3 separate regions of the Homo sapiens genome follow, and all the other regions are linked to region 1. The links are contacts of gene promoters, found by promoter capture Hi-C in blood cells and fetal thymus (Javierre and others, 2016). All regions are on one chromosome and are shown on one strand. Each heading gives the region's core, a stretch centred on a gene start or on the middle of the fragment in contact. The rest is flanking DNA. Distances are from core to core; before and after follow the strand shown. Region 1 holds the start of LRRC1 (leucine rich repeat containing 1). Region 2 overlaps CILK1 (ciliogenesis associated kinase 1). Region 3 has its middle 39 kb from the start of FBXO9.

Evidence for each region. Contacts are between HindIII fragments. The CHiCAGO score rates a contact against its expected background, and 5 or more counts as called.
Region 2: a fragment that was not itself captured here is called in contact with the fragment with the promoter of LRRC1 in region 1 in 2 of 17 cell types (total B cells and activated CD4 T cells); the score reaches 6.5 in total B cells.
Region 3: a fragment that was not itself captured here is called in contact with the fragment with the promoter of LRRC1 in region 1 in 1 of 17 cell types (total B cells); the score reaches 5.2 in total B cells.

The regions. Positions count from the first base shown.
Region 1 is chr6:53,792,886-53,797,912 of GRCh38, reverse strand. LRRC1 (leucine rich repeat containing 1) reads right to left here and starts at 2,908. Exons shown (of 14, transcript NM_018214.5): 1 at 2,498-2,908. The coding sequence starts at 2,656. LOC124901333 (a long non-coding RNA gene) reads left to right here and starts at 4,238. Exons shown (of 5, transcript XR_007059619.1): 1 at 4,238-4,372; 2 at 4,564-4,630. RefSeq lists an enhancer at 2,124-2,836 and silencers at 2,803-3,042, 4,088-4,217. The HindIII fragment of the contact is 4,441 bases long and covers 1,593-5,027 here.
Region 2 is chr6:53,053,245-53,058,271 of GRCh38, reverse strand. All of the region lies in intron 1 of CILK1 (ciliogenesis associated kinase 1), which reads left to right. Among named protein-coding and RNA genes, the nearest start is that of CILK1, 6.1 kb to the left of the region's middle. The HindIII fragment of the contact is 905 bases long and covers 2,567-3,471 here.
Region 3 is chr6:53,101,672-53,106,698 of GRCh38, reverse strand. No RefSeq gene overlaps it. Among named protein-coding and RNA genes, the nearest start is that of FBXO9, 39 kb to the right of the region's middle. The HindIII fragment of the contact is 6,462 bases long and covers 1-5,027 here.

The DNA of each region.
Region 1 (5,027 bases), core at 1,659-4,158:
AGGTGTCCAAAGCAATTGTATTTGGCTGACATCTGAATGAACAAGACCCACCAGCAACTGCATCTAACTCACTGGACAGCCCTGAGAAAGTCACCTCAATTCTGAATCTGAATTTGTAAAAGGAAGATATTGGCGCAAACCAGAAGTTGCAGGCCTTTCAGTGGAAAGAAGGTGGCTGTTATTACACTGAAACCTGGAGAGTGCATCTTTGCTGCCCTGGTAAGGGGTACCGGCTTCCCCTTAAGCTGTGCTTCCAAACAAATTATAGAGAGGAGAACATACAGCTGGTATGGCCACCAAAATAAGGACCTTTGAGGCTTGTGAACAAAACAGATGCGCTTGTGTGTGGCAGGTAAGGAGACAGGGGTTTGGAGCAGGAGCAGCAGAGACCAGTGGTAATAAGTTATACAGATCTCAGAGGTGAGACAACAGATAGCCCAAGGAAAGAATGGAAGGGATGGAACAGATATCTATGTTTGCAAGGTGGTTCTCATGTCTGGCATGTACACACCCAGGCACCAAGACACACAATAAGTCAGGGAGAAGTAGATTTTACACAACCTAAAAACTTTAATACTAATTTAACAGCTGTTAGAGCAATAATAATCCATTAGCAAGATCACCTGTAACCTTTGAAAAGCTTGTTTATTTACCATATTTACAGAGTGCCATCAGACTATATTTTGAGATTCTGACAAGTTTCCATTTAGGATCACAGAAAGACCTGACATTTCGGCTTGGCATGGGAAATTATGTAATTTCCCATGCCAAGCTGAATTCCCCAACATTACAGGAAAACCCACAAACCCTGCAGAAGGGAGTGAAAAGCCAATCCAGTCAAAGGAAATCTTCCAGTTCTACAAAAGAAAACAAAAAAACAAATACCACAAAGAGCAATGAATCATTTCTAGTGAATAACTTTTCACTCCATCTTCAATAATGTCATCCTGAAGCCCCTGAAAACTATTAAATTACATATTCTATATTCCTGGTGATATCACTGCCTAAAATTACACAACTTAAAGCAGTGAGGGAGCTGACGACTGGTAAGAAATCTTCAAGGACGTAAAAGGCCAGAAAAAAATCATGTGTTTGAAAATGCCTGCGAAATAATAAACGCCTGAGGGAACTTGATGGCTTTGCTGCTTCTAAGCTAAATAAAGCCTGGGGGGCTTTGCAAAGGTCCTAGTGAGGATAATCTCCATGATTACACAGAGCAAACATCCAATCAATTCCACATGAACCCAGGAAAGTTAATCCAAGAAGAACACCACCACTTAAAATATTGAGAAAAACACACAGTTCTTATTGTTTAAATGCTCCATCAGCGCTGGAGAACGTATCAGGTCATTCTAACAAGTCAGAACACTTGACTAGTGTTTCTGTGACAATGATTTGGCTTGTGTTAACTAAAGGGCAACAAGAAGTTTGCGTTCCAAAGCTCAGGCCTAAAACAGGTCCAATCCCCGACTGCCAGCAGTCTCCCTACTTCCTGCACACCTTTGGATTATTGCACACCGACTTCCTGCACACACCTGGGTTTGAGACACCTTCCCCGAGGGGTTACTCTAGCTAAGTTCCCGAGGCAAGCTTGAAAGAAGTTCGCTGTACCCCTACTCTCGGTCAAAGCACCATCAGCACATGTCGCTTGACAAGTTCGGCGGCAATGGAGTGATCAATTTACATAAACAACTCTGAAGAGATAACGCATCACTGCAAGGAGAGAAAGTCAGCAGGACGACTGTGCCCGCTCCGGGAAAGGCGGCTGCAAGGCTGGCCCGCGGGCAGAGCCTCCGCTGACGTTCACCGCAGCTCCCACCACGCAACAGGTCCACGTAGGCAAGGCCCGGGCGGCCGGCATCTGGGCACCTGCCCCTAGCGCTCCAGGCCCAGCTCTCCCCTGCGCCCATCTCGCGTCCACCCCCGCAGCCACCGCAGGCCAGCCGGCCAAGCCCACCCGCGATAAAGCACGGAGCACATTCCTCATTCCTCCCAAGATGCCGAGATAGTGCGGCCCGCTTGAGCGCTGCCCAGGTCACAAGGTCCTCCGGGACATGCCTTGACTAAAGGAGAGGCGCGCCCGGCCCTTGGTGGGGGAACGACCCCGGGGAGTGGAGGGGGGGAGGATGCAGTGCTCTGTAGCTTCCAGATGGAAACAGCCCGAATCACCCGGCTTCTCACCTGACCGGGCACAAGTGCCAGGTGTCAGTACCTAGCATGGATCTAAGTTACTTAACAGTCCAGAACGCTTCTCCAATAGCACGAGCCCCAGTGACTACGCGCAAAATATCCGGTCACTTTGAATAAAATGAAAAGGAACTTTTACTGGGAAAGGATGGAAGTAAAGAGACAGGGGGAGAAAGAAGCAGGTGAATGCATAAAAGAGGGAAGGTTCCTTCACGCCGGACCCGGAGATGGAAGAGGGGACGAGAGAGGATGGGAGCGGAAGGGACAGCAGACGAGCGGGCAGAGCGCTCAGGTGAGGCCGGACCCTTACCTCGGGCAGCTCGCGGAGCTGGTTGGCGTCCAGCAGCAGCTCCTCCAGGCTCCGGGCATAGCGGTAGATCTCCTCGGGGACGTAGACCAGCGAGCAGTGGCGCTTGTCGATGCTCTCCACATGACGGTTGCACCGCCACAGGGGGATGCAGTGGAACATCGCCGCCCCCGCCGCCGCCTAGCCGGGTCCCGAGCGGCGGAGACCCGGGCTCCGAGCCCGCTCTGGCCGGCGGCTCCGCTCAGTCCGCTGCCCTCTCCGCGCTCGTTGTTGGCTCTTGGGTTAGCTCGCTTCTCGCGCCGGGCTTCGCGGTCGGAAGTGCTTCAAGGAACCTGGAGCGGGAGCCCCTGCCCCGTCCCTGTACCCCCGCCCGCCAGCCGGTGCCTCCACTCCCACCCGCCAGTCGCCGTCGCCGCCCCCGCCGCCGCGCGGAGCTTCCTACTCGCAGCCGCCGCGCGGACTGAGCATGCGCGCCAGTGGGTGCGCGCCGAGGGCGTTTCCCGGCCCGAGGGATGCTCCGCTCCGGGTTTTCCCGGCGACCTGCATCCAGAGAGGGTCGACTGACCTGCGGGCCGGCTGCTGGCGGTCTGCTTACTCCGGCAAAGACGGGGGCGCATCGGGCCGTTTGAGGAAGGCAGACTGTGAAAGGACTTGGGACAAAGATGAGGCGGAGTAGAGGCGGCCTGAGCAGAGCAGAACAACTTTGATATTTAGTTTTATTTAACTCGCACTCCTCTCCTTGCTCCCCTTCCCCAAAACAACTTTCTCTTCCGGGGTCACACAGGACCGCCCCAAAGCGTACCTTGCGCGCCGGGGGCGCCAGGCGCTACTGGATTCGGTGTAGTTTTGAGGTGTTTGCACCACCCTCGCTGCTGCTTTCGTGGCTGCCCGTGTGCCCGCTGCTCACGGCTGCCCCAGAAGTGTGAGCTGGCCGCGCCCGGCCCTCTGGTCCTCGGGCACCGCCTGCAGGCTTTGTAACTTGGGAGCACATCTCTGGTGATCATGGTTTATGCAGTGAGTGATAGTAAATCCTCCTCCCTGTACCAGCAAAGGCATAGGAGTCTGAGAGTCTGCGAGATTCTCATAGATGTGGTTGCACCTGGCAAGGAGCCCAGCTGCAGAAATAAGCAGGCAAACGCGAGTTTCTGAGCCAGTTCCAGCCCGGCCCAGATGTTGGCCCCTGACAACTAGCTGTGGCTGGTGCGGAGGGAGGAGCGAGGGAAGAGGGGCAGATCGAGGCTGCCAGGTGAGCATCCTCCATACAGCTCCTGCTTTTCTGCTACAACCCCAGTCCCGTCCAGCCCGGATGACCGGGGAGGCTCACTATTGGGTTATAACAACCATTCCCTCGCCCCGACTCATTCCTGCGGACCACGGCCGGAATCCTGAACTGCCCCTCTTTGCCTGTAACTGTTTGCAACACAGTCCCCATCTCCGAATAACCAAATTTTCTCCTTTAATGAAGGGTTGCTAAAGTCAAGGTCAATCACAATGATGAATCATTTCCTTGGGGGCTTCTCTGATTCCCCACCCGGCCGCCCCTTCGTTCCACACTTTCCCTTTCAAGCATACTCAAACTCCAGGTTTCCACCTGCGGCCGCTGCCACGCTGGCTCTCCCACACTCACTCCCGCCCTCCAGCTGCTATAGCTAAAATCTGGAGCCACGGAGTTCACTTTTCTATAGAAGACAAAGCTGAGCATGCTCAGTGGCCAAGGCAAAGTTTGGTCGGAAACTAGTTTTTGCATTAGACTCTCCATGGGCTCCATAGACTCTCCTGTACCTTACGACTAGGCACAGGAGCGTTTCCCCGGTGAAATGGAGAAGAGGACACTTGGTCTTTTCAACTTTACTAGGAGGGCTCCTTTCTTCCCAGTCCGTAAGGAGGGGTCTGACTTTCATTTCCACCCCAGCATTATCACCTTAACTCTCATTCCAGTCAATCCCGAAACTCCGTTGCCCTACCCACTTCACCCTTCTTTTGTTTGTCCTGATTTGATTCCTGCGTTCTCACAGAGGGCTACCTGGACTTTGAACCTCCACCCCCCTTTCTACATTCTTGCATTCCAGAAACATATGAAGCTCATTTCTGCCACCCTTCCTAGAAAACTGGTTCCTGACAGAGACATGTGGAAAGGTAAGTAAGTCCCTGTCTTCAAGTTTTCCAACTGCTTTTTAAAAAAAAAATTAAAGAAGGCTAGTTCCCTCCATTTAAAATAATGTGATTTCCAGAGGTTATCACACTAGATTATTTTAACGAACACCAAATGTATTTTAAAGACGTGTCCAGTCTTTTAAAAATTCAGACCTCAATAAGCATTCCTTGTGTGCCTCTCCATGATGCTTCAGCTTCTCTGTGTTATTATTTTTGTATCACCTTAATCCGAAAGAGATTATGACCTCTTAAACAACAGATACTGTCTCACTTGCTTTGTAGATCTGGGAAGCTGCCACAGTGCCATATGCACAGTCAATGATCAACAGTTTTTGTTGATTTAATTCTATGGGTAGTCACTGGGAGAATTCTTGACTTT
Region 2 (5,027 bases), core at 1,770-4,269, 740 kb after region 1:
CAAGGTTGATATGGGCATCTTCATTCAATCTGTCTGCTCCTAGTTAACTGCTGTCCAATATTAGGAAAAACTACTACTCAACAGGTTTTAGGGAAACACTCAACCCAAACAGAAGGCTTCTATTCCTGATTTTCTTCCAAGGAAACTGAACTATCTTTGCACATTAAGTACCTGACTCTCTGTGCTTTGAAAGTTGAAGTCTTCCTGGGTAGGAAGAGTGTCTTGTCGTGGGACTTACCTGAGCAGGCTGAAATCAAATCCAACATATGTTGACATGTGAAGTCATGTTTGAGTTTGAGGATAGCACATCTTCAAACATCTGCTCCCCCCTTTTTTTAAACTATATGGGCTCAGGATTAGCAAAATATTCATATGCTTTTTACCAAGGAGCACGTGGGGAACATTTGATACATCTTTAGTTGGCTATAAAACATGTATTATACTCACACATTTCAAAATATTCTACTCTGAAGATAGCAAGTATTCTGTTCTTCTTAGTTGGATCTCATCTGTAGAGTGAGAATGTCAAGTGATCATTAAGGTCCTTTACAGAAAAAAAAAATTCTTAACTCTATTGTCTGAAGTTTGTTCAACATTAGGCTTTGAACATAGTTCCTAATGAATTTAGCATTCAAATCTATGTTAATTAGCATTCAGTTATATTTTATCTTTAAATAAGCTCATCATGGCTGCTATAAAAGATAATGCCTCTGAACCAAAAGATAAAGTATTATAAGTGTGATGTCCAACTATATTTGACAATATCATGAAAGTAACTATCTGCGTGAACTTGTAGTTCCTAGCAGATGATTGTCATCCTAACTCACTTTTTTTGAAATGAAAGGGCCACAATAGTGCCTTGCTTTTCATTTGGTGCTTTTCCCACCATGTCAAGAACCCTTAGTAGCCACTTAATAAATGTATAACGATGGCCCAGAGCTTATGAGAACCACACGTTTTTTTAGGAGAGATCAGTGTGAGTTATTTTTTACCTTTCTATAGGTGAAGCATGACCTGTGATAAAGTATTGATAACATGTGACTGCTCTTTTGACTACCATAAAAGATAATGCCTGAGAACCGGAAAGGAAAGTACTATTGTATAATGCCCAAATACGTATTTGGCAATATCATGAAAGTTACTATCTGCATGAACTTGTGGTTCCCAAAAGATAGTTATTAATGGTTTTGCCCTCTTGGACATTGCCTTTGCTTTGAAAGAGAATTTACTAGAGAATGATTTAACTAAGACAAAGGGGAGTAAGAAAAATGTAAGATATACATGCCTTCATGTGATCTTAGCTGTTGAAAAGCAAGTTTTTTCCTAAATTAGTGTAAAAGTTTTTAGAAGGAGTCATAATTTTGGTACCCTAGTCCCAGTACAGTTGTCCAGTTTGCAAAGAAGTGGGGCGTGACGGGATGACAGTGAGGGTGGACGTGGTAGTATAGGAAAATCATCTATGGTCAGGATTGCCTTTTAAAGCTCCATAAGTTGTTCATTCATTAGTTAATTCATTGAACATGTCTTTATTGTGAGTCCGTACTTGTGCCAACTATGCCAGTTCTCTGGGAACTGAGTACTGGGAATACAGTTGTGAATATTGCAACGTTTCTGACCTCACAGAGCTTATATTCTAAGGTTAAACACAGCTTGTATGTAGCCCTGTAACCTAGGGGTAAGTGAGGGCTCTATGGAGAGTACTAAAGTGCTTCTGCTTATTTGGGGGATTTCCTCATCTTCAGGGCTTGACAAACTATGGCTTGTGTGCCAGTCCTTCCTGCTGCCTGTTTTTGTAAATAAATTTGTACTGGAACACAGCCATGCCCATGTATTTACATATTGTCTTTGACTGCTTTCATGCTACAATGGCAGAGTGGAGTTGTGACGGAGATGGAGAGCCTGCAAAGCCTATCCTGTTTACTGACCCTTCACAGAAAAAACGTGCTTATCCCTGCCCTATTTTATTTTTACATTAAGCCTTTACTTCCTTTAATTCATTTTGATTTTTTGTATACATGCTAGCAAAGCATCTTACACTGAGATCAGCTCCTTAGTCAAATGTGTTGTAATAGCATATAAATACTGATAACATGTGGCTGTCCTTGTAACTACCGTAAAAGATAATGCGTTAGAACCAGAAAGGTAAAGTATTATTGTGTAACGTCCAGCTACTTATTTGCCAGTATCATGAAAGTTACTATCTACATGAACTTGTGATATGCTCTTAGTCACTCCCCTATCTTCACTATCCCTTATCTTGCCCACCCCTGAAACACAGGCAAGCAGGACTATTGCCACCCTCGGCAGTTTTCATTAAGCTGGGGACTCTCGTTCTAGCTCATCTACAGTTTCACACATGGCAGGGTAAAGGTTTGTTTTTCTGGCTGTTTTTTTATTTTTTATTTTTTTTAACATTTCGCCTTTACTTCAGTTCTTTACAGTCCACCAAAGCCAACTATGTGTCCTAGTTTAAAAATCATCTGCAAGTGATTGAAGAACTTTTTTAAGGTTCAAGGCGTGAGCACCTTTTATATTGTAAGAGAAGCGACAGGGAGTTATGGAAGCTTCTCATGGGATTAAGGACCTAGTGCAGGACGAGTTCTTTTTTCAGAAGCTGGGATTGAAAGAGGAGAGGGATGGTAAAGGTATGAAGAAGTTTCTGGGGCACAGAAGAAGGCACATCATGTAACGGATTATCTTCTCTTGTTAACATCCAGTTGATGCAATAGCTGAATGCATCTTTAATTCACTCCTCTGTCAAGGTAAAGACAAAGCAAGATCCATGTAAAGAAGGTCCTTTTGGCTTTGTAACTGCTATTCCTTATGCAGAAAAAAAGCAGTAGTCCAAGAGGCAAAATGCTTAAAAGGTTTGCTTGCTAAAATGTACAGAGGCAGAAGAATTAGGTCCAGGAGAAAAACATAAACCCGGATATACTATTTCTAGTACCTTTTTAAAAGAAATTAACAGTATTCACTGACTTTTGTAAAGTTAGGACACATTCAAACCTAGAATACGAAGTCTAATTATAAACCTGTAAAGGTAAAATGGAACTCAGAATTACCATGAGAAGGGTCATCTAATGATTTTGCATATAATCCACTTTTCCTAGGAGGATAAATGAAAGTAACAGAATCTTTTCAATGTAAGATAATTAATGCAAAGGGAGACAAGCTCCTTCTAAGGAACTGAATGGTGTCAGTGGGCCTGGTAAACCACAACTCCCAGAGAACCCCAAGTTTGCTGTAACTTTTTGTCTCCTGTCTTAGAAAATGTGTAATGATGGCATTAATTCATTGATTAAGGTTTCAAAATAAAGAATGAACTACAATTTTCCCTGCCCCTCGCCTCCATTTTTTAGGCTGTGAATGAGCAAGGCACCTGATGTGAGCTGCTGGCCATGAGCAAATGTTCTTTGCCTCCACCGAGGATTGACGCTGAGGGGAGGGAATTGGGGCAAATCACAGGAAGCTTTTCCCCAATGTCACCTAGCCAGGAACATCATAACATTGACTTCAAAGGTTTGCTGGAACTCTTTGAAAGAGAGATAAAGCTGTCTTTCTTTGGTAGTTGAGTACAGCCTTACCCAAAGGCCAAAGGCCTGATCTGACCGCATGGAGGGGGACTTTCTGTGATCCTCTGAGACTCAGTCATCTTGGCATTGTTGTGGGAGGGCCCAGGCTGCCTGCCTGCCCCAGCTATTCTGTGGTATTCACTGTTCTTCCACTTCAGAACTTCAGAACTTTTAGTTGGGCCCAACAGTTTATCTTTGTTTTGTGTATGACAAAATAGAAGCACTGAGAATTTTGAGGTACTTAGCCAAGGTGGTACAGAAAATAATAGCAAAGACTAAAACTCACATTTGGGCCCTTCAAACAATCTTTGAGGACTTGCTACTGCAAGTGGAGTGAGAAGACAAAGATGAAGCAGTCTTGGAGAGTGTCGAGGCTGAAGCAGAGGGTACACCTGCAGGTCATTGCCACGGGGAAGGGGCTGGCAGTGAGGTGAGGACAAGGCACTATGGCATCAAGGGAGAGGACCATTCTCGGGTCTATATGTGTAGGTTGGGGCAGGAGGCTTGGAAGAGGTGACATGTGAGCTCGAAAGAGAAGGAATCGATGTTTAATGTTTACTGGGGCCTGGCTGAGGCACTGGGGCACTTGTGCATCTCTTGAAAGAAAGGTGTGTAGCATACAGGGTCCTTCGGTGGCACTGTCTTCTCCGCTAACCTTTGTTCATGTGATGCAAAAAGCAGAAACATTTATCCTTTTTTTTTTCTTAGACAAATGCTAGCTCAATTCCTGATACAGAGTCACAGAATCACACAGCTTTAGAGGAAGAAACCACCTTAGAGCAAGTCCCATGCCCTAATTCCACCAAAAGTAAACTCAAGGACCAAGAGATGCCCCGAGGCACAGCAGATCAGTGCTGAGTGGAAACTGGAACCAGTCCCTCACTTTGCCTCCACTGTGGGCATGTTGGTGCTGCCAATGGCTCCAGAGGATTCGCTGATATTTGATTGCAGAATGAAGACAATTAGAACATAGCCATATCATTCATTTTCATATTTGGGCTTTGAGATACAAAGTACTACTTCTGTTCCTGTCATTTTCAGATCCTCCAAAGATTTCATGATCTTTTGAAAGCTTTCCCTTAAGTTTGGTACAGTCAGCCTGGGTTCCTGTCTCATTTCTGCCACATTAGTCGTATAATCTAGACATGTAACTTGTGTCTCAGTTTCCTTCTCTGTAAAATAGGGATAATTGTAATAGTACCTGCCTGGTAGAATTATGAGGGTTAAATGTACTAATATATGCATAAGCACTTATAATAGTACTATGCACATACTAAGTACTAAAATTATCATGTTTTGGGCATATTTGATATATGAGGGTGCTAAGTGTAGATTCGTTGTAGTGAATGATTTATCCAAGTTAATTCTTGGAGTCAAAGCAGAATTTAGAAATACTGCGAGTTAGAAATACATGCTAATTCTCAAGGTAATGGACAGGCTGCTACATTCCATTCA
Region 3 (5,027 bases), core at 1,499-3,998, 690 kb after region 1:
CTCTACTAAAAATACCAAAAAATTAGCGGGGCATGGTGCCCCTCTAGTCCCAGCTACTCAGGAGCTGAGGCAAGAGAATCCCTTCAACTCAGGAGGCCACGCCACTGCATTCCAGCCTGGGCGACAGGGTGAGACCCCATCTCCAAAAAAAACAAACAAAAACAACTAAAAACCCAGGGCTATCTAACCCCAAAGTCCGGATTCTGTCCACTGTTTTATGATACTTCCCTACTTCTCCTGTCAAATTCTGAGTTAGAGGAAGGCCTTACTCGTTCATGTCTGGGTAGAATATGATTCTTTCTTATTCAGGTCCCCAGGGACCTAAAGGAATCATGTTTAAGATTTAAAGGCTCCAAAGCTGAAAGATCCAAAGCTGAAAGATCTGTAGAGGCCTCAGTGTTGGTAGTTCTCACTTGCTCTGAATGGTCCTAGCATCTACTAGGTTTGAATTGGGGGCACCCAGGCAAAGAACTCCTCTGACACAGTGTTGGTAGAAGCCACAGAAGTCTTCCCTCCACTGCAATGGTTAACTATAATGATCTGATTGGGAATCAGCTCACATTTACTGAGTATCTGCTAGGGTCAGGATCTGTGCTAGGTTCACTGAGCTCATGTCTTCTGACCCAGTTTGTGGTCTTTGCACCACACCATGCAGTTGGCTCTTTATATCGCAGTGCTCAAAATACATCCACTCCTCTAGGAGATAGTGCAGAGGTACACACCCCTGTTGGGGATGAAGGAACAAGCAAAGAGAGGAGACTTTGCTTTTAGCTACACACTTCAAAGACATACAAACTATAAGGCAAAGAAAGATATCTCTCTGCAACTGTCCACATTAATTTGGGATTATAGGTCCAGGCCTGGAGGAAATTAGCTAGTCATTAAAGAAATCAGATGGGAATAAAGAACAGATCATGAGAAAAGTAGAAACTGTTATCTGATATGGATTCACTTTTTTAAGCTGTTGGGAATTCCTGGTACTAAAGCCTCTGTTAGCCAAATGCAGAAGTCAGTGAGCATTCCGAGGGACTTCAGAATCCAGTGCAGGGCAACAGATACATTGGACCCTTCTGCAAAGTGGTTTTCCTGGTAAAATCATGGAAATTAGTGAGGTCTAATCGTCACTCTACTCGTCACACACTAGGAAACACCGCTGGTATTTTCTTCTCTTCTATAGAGGAAGAAAAATAGCCAGAAAAGAATGGATAACCTTCATTCTGAGTTACATCTGACAAAAAGCCAAATGTAGGGCACTGGCCATGCCTTGAGTATAGTGACCATCCATCCCAGTTCGCTCAGGAGCCTCCCGATTTATGCTTGCTGTTCCAGTGCAATTACAAAAAAAACACTACTCTTTCCTCTAAAAAGTGTCCTGATTTTGACAATAAATTGACTATTTGATCACCCTACTTATAGAGCAGGTTTCAACTTACTGCTCCTTTGGCCTGAATACAATAAATTGGGCTGGATGTATTTCCAGGACTTGAGGAAAAGTTAGTCTGCACAGAAAAGCCATTTCAGCAAAAGAAGCCTATGCTGCTTATGCAATCTCCACACTATCCTTCTTCAATCTACCATACACACACATGCACACCATGTCCAGAATTGGCCAGCATTCTTAGGATAGTCTTGCACAGTTTTCTGAATCTCAATTCTGCTGCTAGATATTTACTGGATTCATAAGAAGAAGGTGCAAATATGGAAGCCTTGAGTGGATTTAACAGTGATCCCCCAAAAACTCTGCACTGAGCATTAGACCACAGCAAGAGGGGCTGTGGGCCTCTCAAGAGAGTCACAAATCAGGCCACTTGCTTGTCAAATGGGGACAGGTTGGCCCCTCTTCTGGATCTCAACAACCCCAACCTCAGATACTATCCCAGGATCCCTTTCCTATTCATTCCAAATCAGGATATTCAATTTCCTCATGCAGCCAGGACAAACTGGCCAGATTAAAAAAAAAAAAAAAAAAAAAAAACAATGGCCAAGAAAACTGAGATTTCTGGGCTACTTGCTGAAGAGTTGGCATGGCAGGAGTTAGGGCACTGTCACAAAAATGGCATTTCTGTTTGAATATACACCTTAAATCTTAGATCCTGTCACTTGCAGCTTTGAAAGTCAGTCAGAAAGATCTGGGGTGTTCCTATTTTCTTGTGAATGTGAAAATCAGCTCCCCCTAACACTATGAAGAATAAGAGCAAAAACAAAAAGGCTGGGACAAGAGTGTCACCTAGTGACAAAAGGATGCTTTTGTTAGTTTCTTCCAATAGAGCATCAAGAGCCCATGAAATGTGTCCAGTGCTTTATAGGGATCCTTTTATCTCATGTTCACAACAGAGAGGTGCTTTGGAATCAGAGATTTAAAAGAAATGGACCCTGTCCTCAACCACAGTTTGATGGAGGGCATTCGCATGTAAAAACAGAATTAAAATGGAATGTGATAACTGCTGGGATAGAGGCAATGTGGAATATTTTGGAGACAGACAAGGGACACCTTCTGGTGGAATCAGGAGAAGTATACATAGGTACTGAGCCTAACAATTAATTGGGTATTAGCTCCCTGCTCGGCTTACCTATCCCTATGCCAATTACACAAGGAGAGAAACTGTGAGGTTGAACTTGACACACACCATCCATTGACTCTCTTTCTTATGATGTACCCCTTGGTTGATGGCTGCGCTGTCCATTACAGTAGTCACTGGTCACATGTGGCTATGAGCACTTGGAACATGGCTAAGCCAGTAGAAGTGTGCTGGAAGTGTAAATTACACTCCAGATTCCAAAGATTTAGAATTTTTTAAAGTGTAAAAAAATCCCATTAGTAATTTTTATATTGAGTACGTGTCAAAATGATACTGTTTTGGATAGTACTGGATTAAAATAAATTATTAAAATTAACTTCACCTTTTTAATAAAAAAATGGCTCTAGAAACTTAAAAATTACATATGTGGTTCAAATTATATTTCTAGTGGGCAGCGCTGGTCTAAGCTCCAGTGGGAATTGTAACATATTGGAGTTTTGATGTTATTTCTTTAGAACTGGACTCTACTCCTGGCTCTGGCTATGAGAAAGCATTCTGGAGTTAGCCTTGCTCCACTACTCAGTAACCAGGATGAGCTTGACAAGTTTATTTAAACTCTCTTAACCTGAAATTTCTTATTTATAAAATAGGAACAATAATACCTGTGTGTTGTGAGCACAAATGAGATAATCCATATAAAAGAAGGCCTTCTGCCCCATACTTAACACATAATCTCTCAAAGTTTTTAAACAACTTTATTATTACTTGCATATAATTTCTTTCTTTCTTTCTTTTGAAAACAGGGTTTACTCTGTCACCCAGGCTAGAGTGCAGTGGCGTGATCTTGGCTCGCTGCAGCCTCCACTTCTCGGGCTTCTGAATAGCTGGGACTCCAGGCACGTACCACCATGCCTGGCCAATTTTGTTTTTATTTTTTCTAGAGATGAGGTCTATGTTGCCCAGGTTGAACATATAAGTTCTTGATTCTCTGCATTTTTAAATTAACAAATAATGGTACATGTTTGTGGAGTACAATGTGATGTTTTGATACATGTACACATTGCAAAATGAGCAAATCAGACTAATTAACGTATCTATCACCTCATATACTTATCCTTTCTTTGTGGTGAGAACATTTAAAATATGCTCTTTTGGCCATTTAAACATATGCATTGTTAATAACTACAGTGACCATGTTATGCCACAGATCACTAGAATGTATTCCTCCTAGCTGAAACTTTACATACCCTTGAACTAATATCTCTGCTTTCCCCATCCACCCTTCCCTCCAGCCCCTGGTAACCACCACTCTACTCTCTTCTATCAGTTTGACTTTTTTAGATTTTACAAATAAGTAAGATCATGCAGTAACATCTAAGTTCTTAATAAACATTATTAAGACTAGAATTTACTGAGTGCTTACAACTGCCAGGCCCTCTGCATGAATACACGCCTTTAATTTGTGAGGGTCCTGGTTATACCACCTGAGGCAAACAACTTCACCCTTCATGAGCCCCCATTTCCTCACCTCCACATGGGGATAGTTGGTCAGTAAGTGACTTCTAGGGAAACTTCCAGCTTTGACATTCTATGTGTCATCTGACATTTAAACATATTTCACTATCACATTAAGTATTATTCAAAGGCTCTGACTTCCAATGTTTCCTCATAGCCTTTTGTTCTTGTTTCTTCTTCCATGTCTTTGAAGAAATAGAATTTTGTTTTTCAGATTTCTTCTACTACCTGCATTTTTTTATTTCCATCATGTCCCCTTTCTCTGCTTATTTAAAAAGTCTGATTCTCTGTCACTCATTTAGACTTTGTCTTCAAATACTTGGTGTTCCTTGCTTGTCCATTGATAGCCAAGAAGGAGCCACTACGATGTTAACTAGAAACTACGTGGGTAGGTGGTACTTGCTGACTGAGAGGCGTGGGAGAGGACCTATTCTGTTGATTCCTAAATGTCAGTATCCGTAGGTCTTTTTTTTGTGGGAAGGGGTCTTTTCCTAGAGGGGAAGCCTCCACTTTCCTGCCTGATGGTGTGAGCCTGACAACTTGAGTTCTGGGAGTTGGCTGGGGATACTTCCCGCAGGGTCTTGCTGTTTCCATGTGGTACCTTACCTTCCATGGGAGGCCAGTTGAGTTGATTTGCACTTTTTAGCTTCCCCTGCTTCTGGCTGAGGTCTCAGATCTCTCTGGAACAGCAACAGTTATAATACATATAATGGCTGCTATTTACTGAGCACCAACTCAGTCAGGCATTGTCCTATGCAATTAACGTGGAGTGTTATCTGTTACTCCTTTCAACTCTGTGGGTAGGTATTATGATAATATTTCCTCTAATTTATCATGACATGGAGAGTTAACTAACTTGCTCGAACTCAGTCGTGGATCTAGCACTTCAACACACAGCCCATGCTTAATGCCACTTTACCACTTGCCCACCTGCTTTCTATTTTCCAAATTCTAACCTGTCCTGTCTGCTTTCAGCACCTCTCCTGTCCTCCC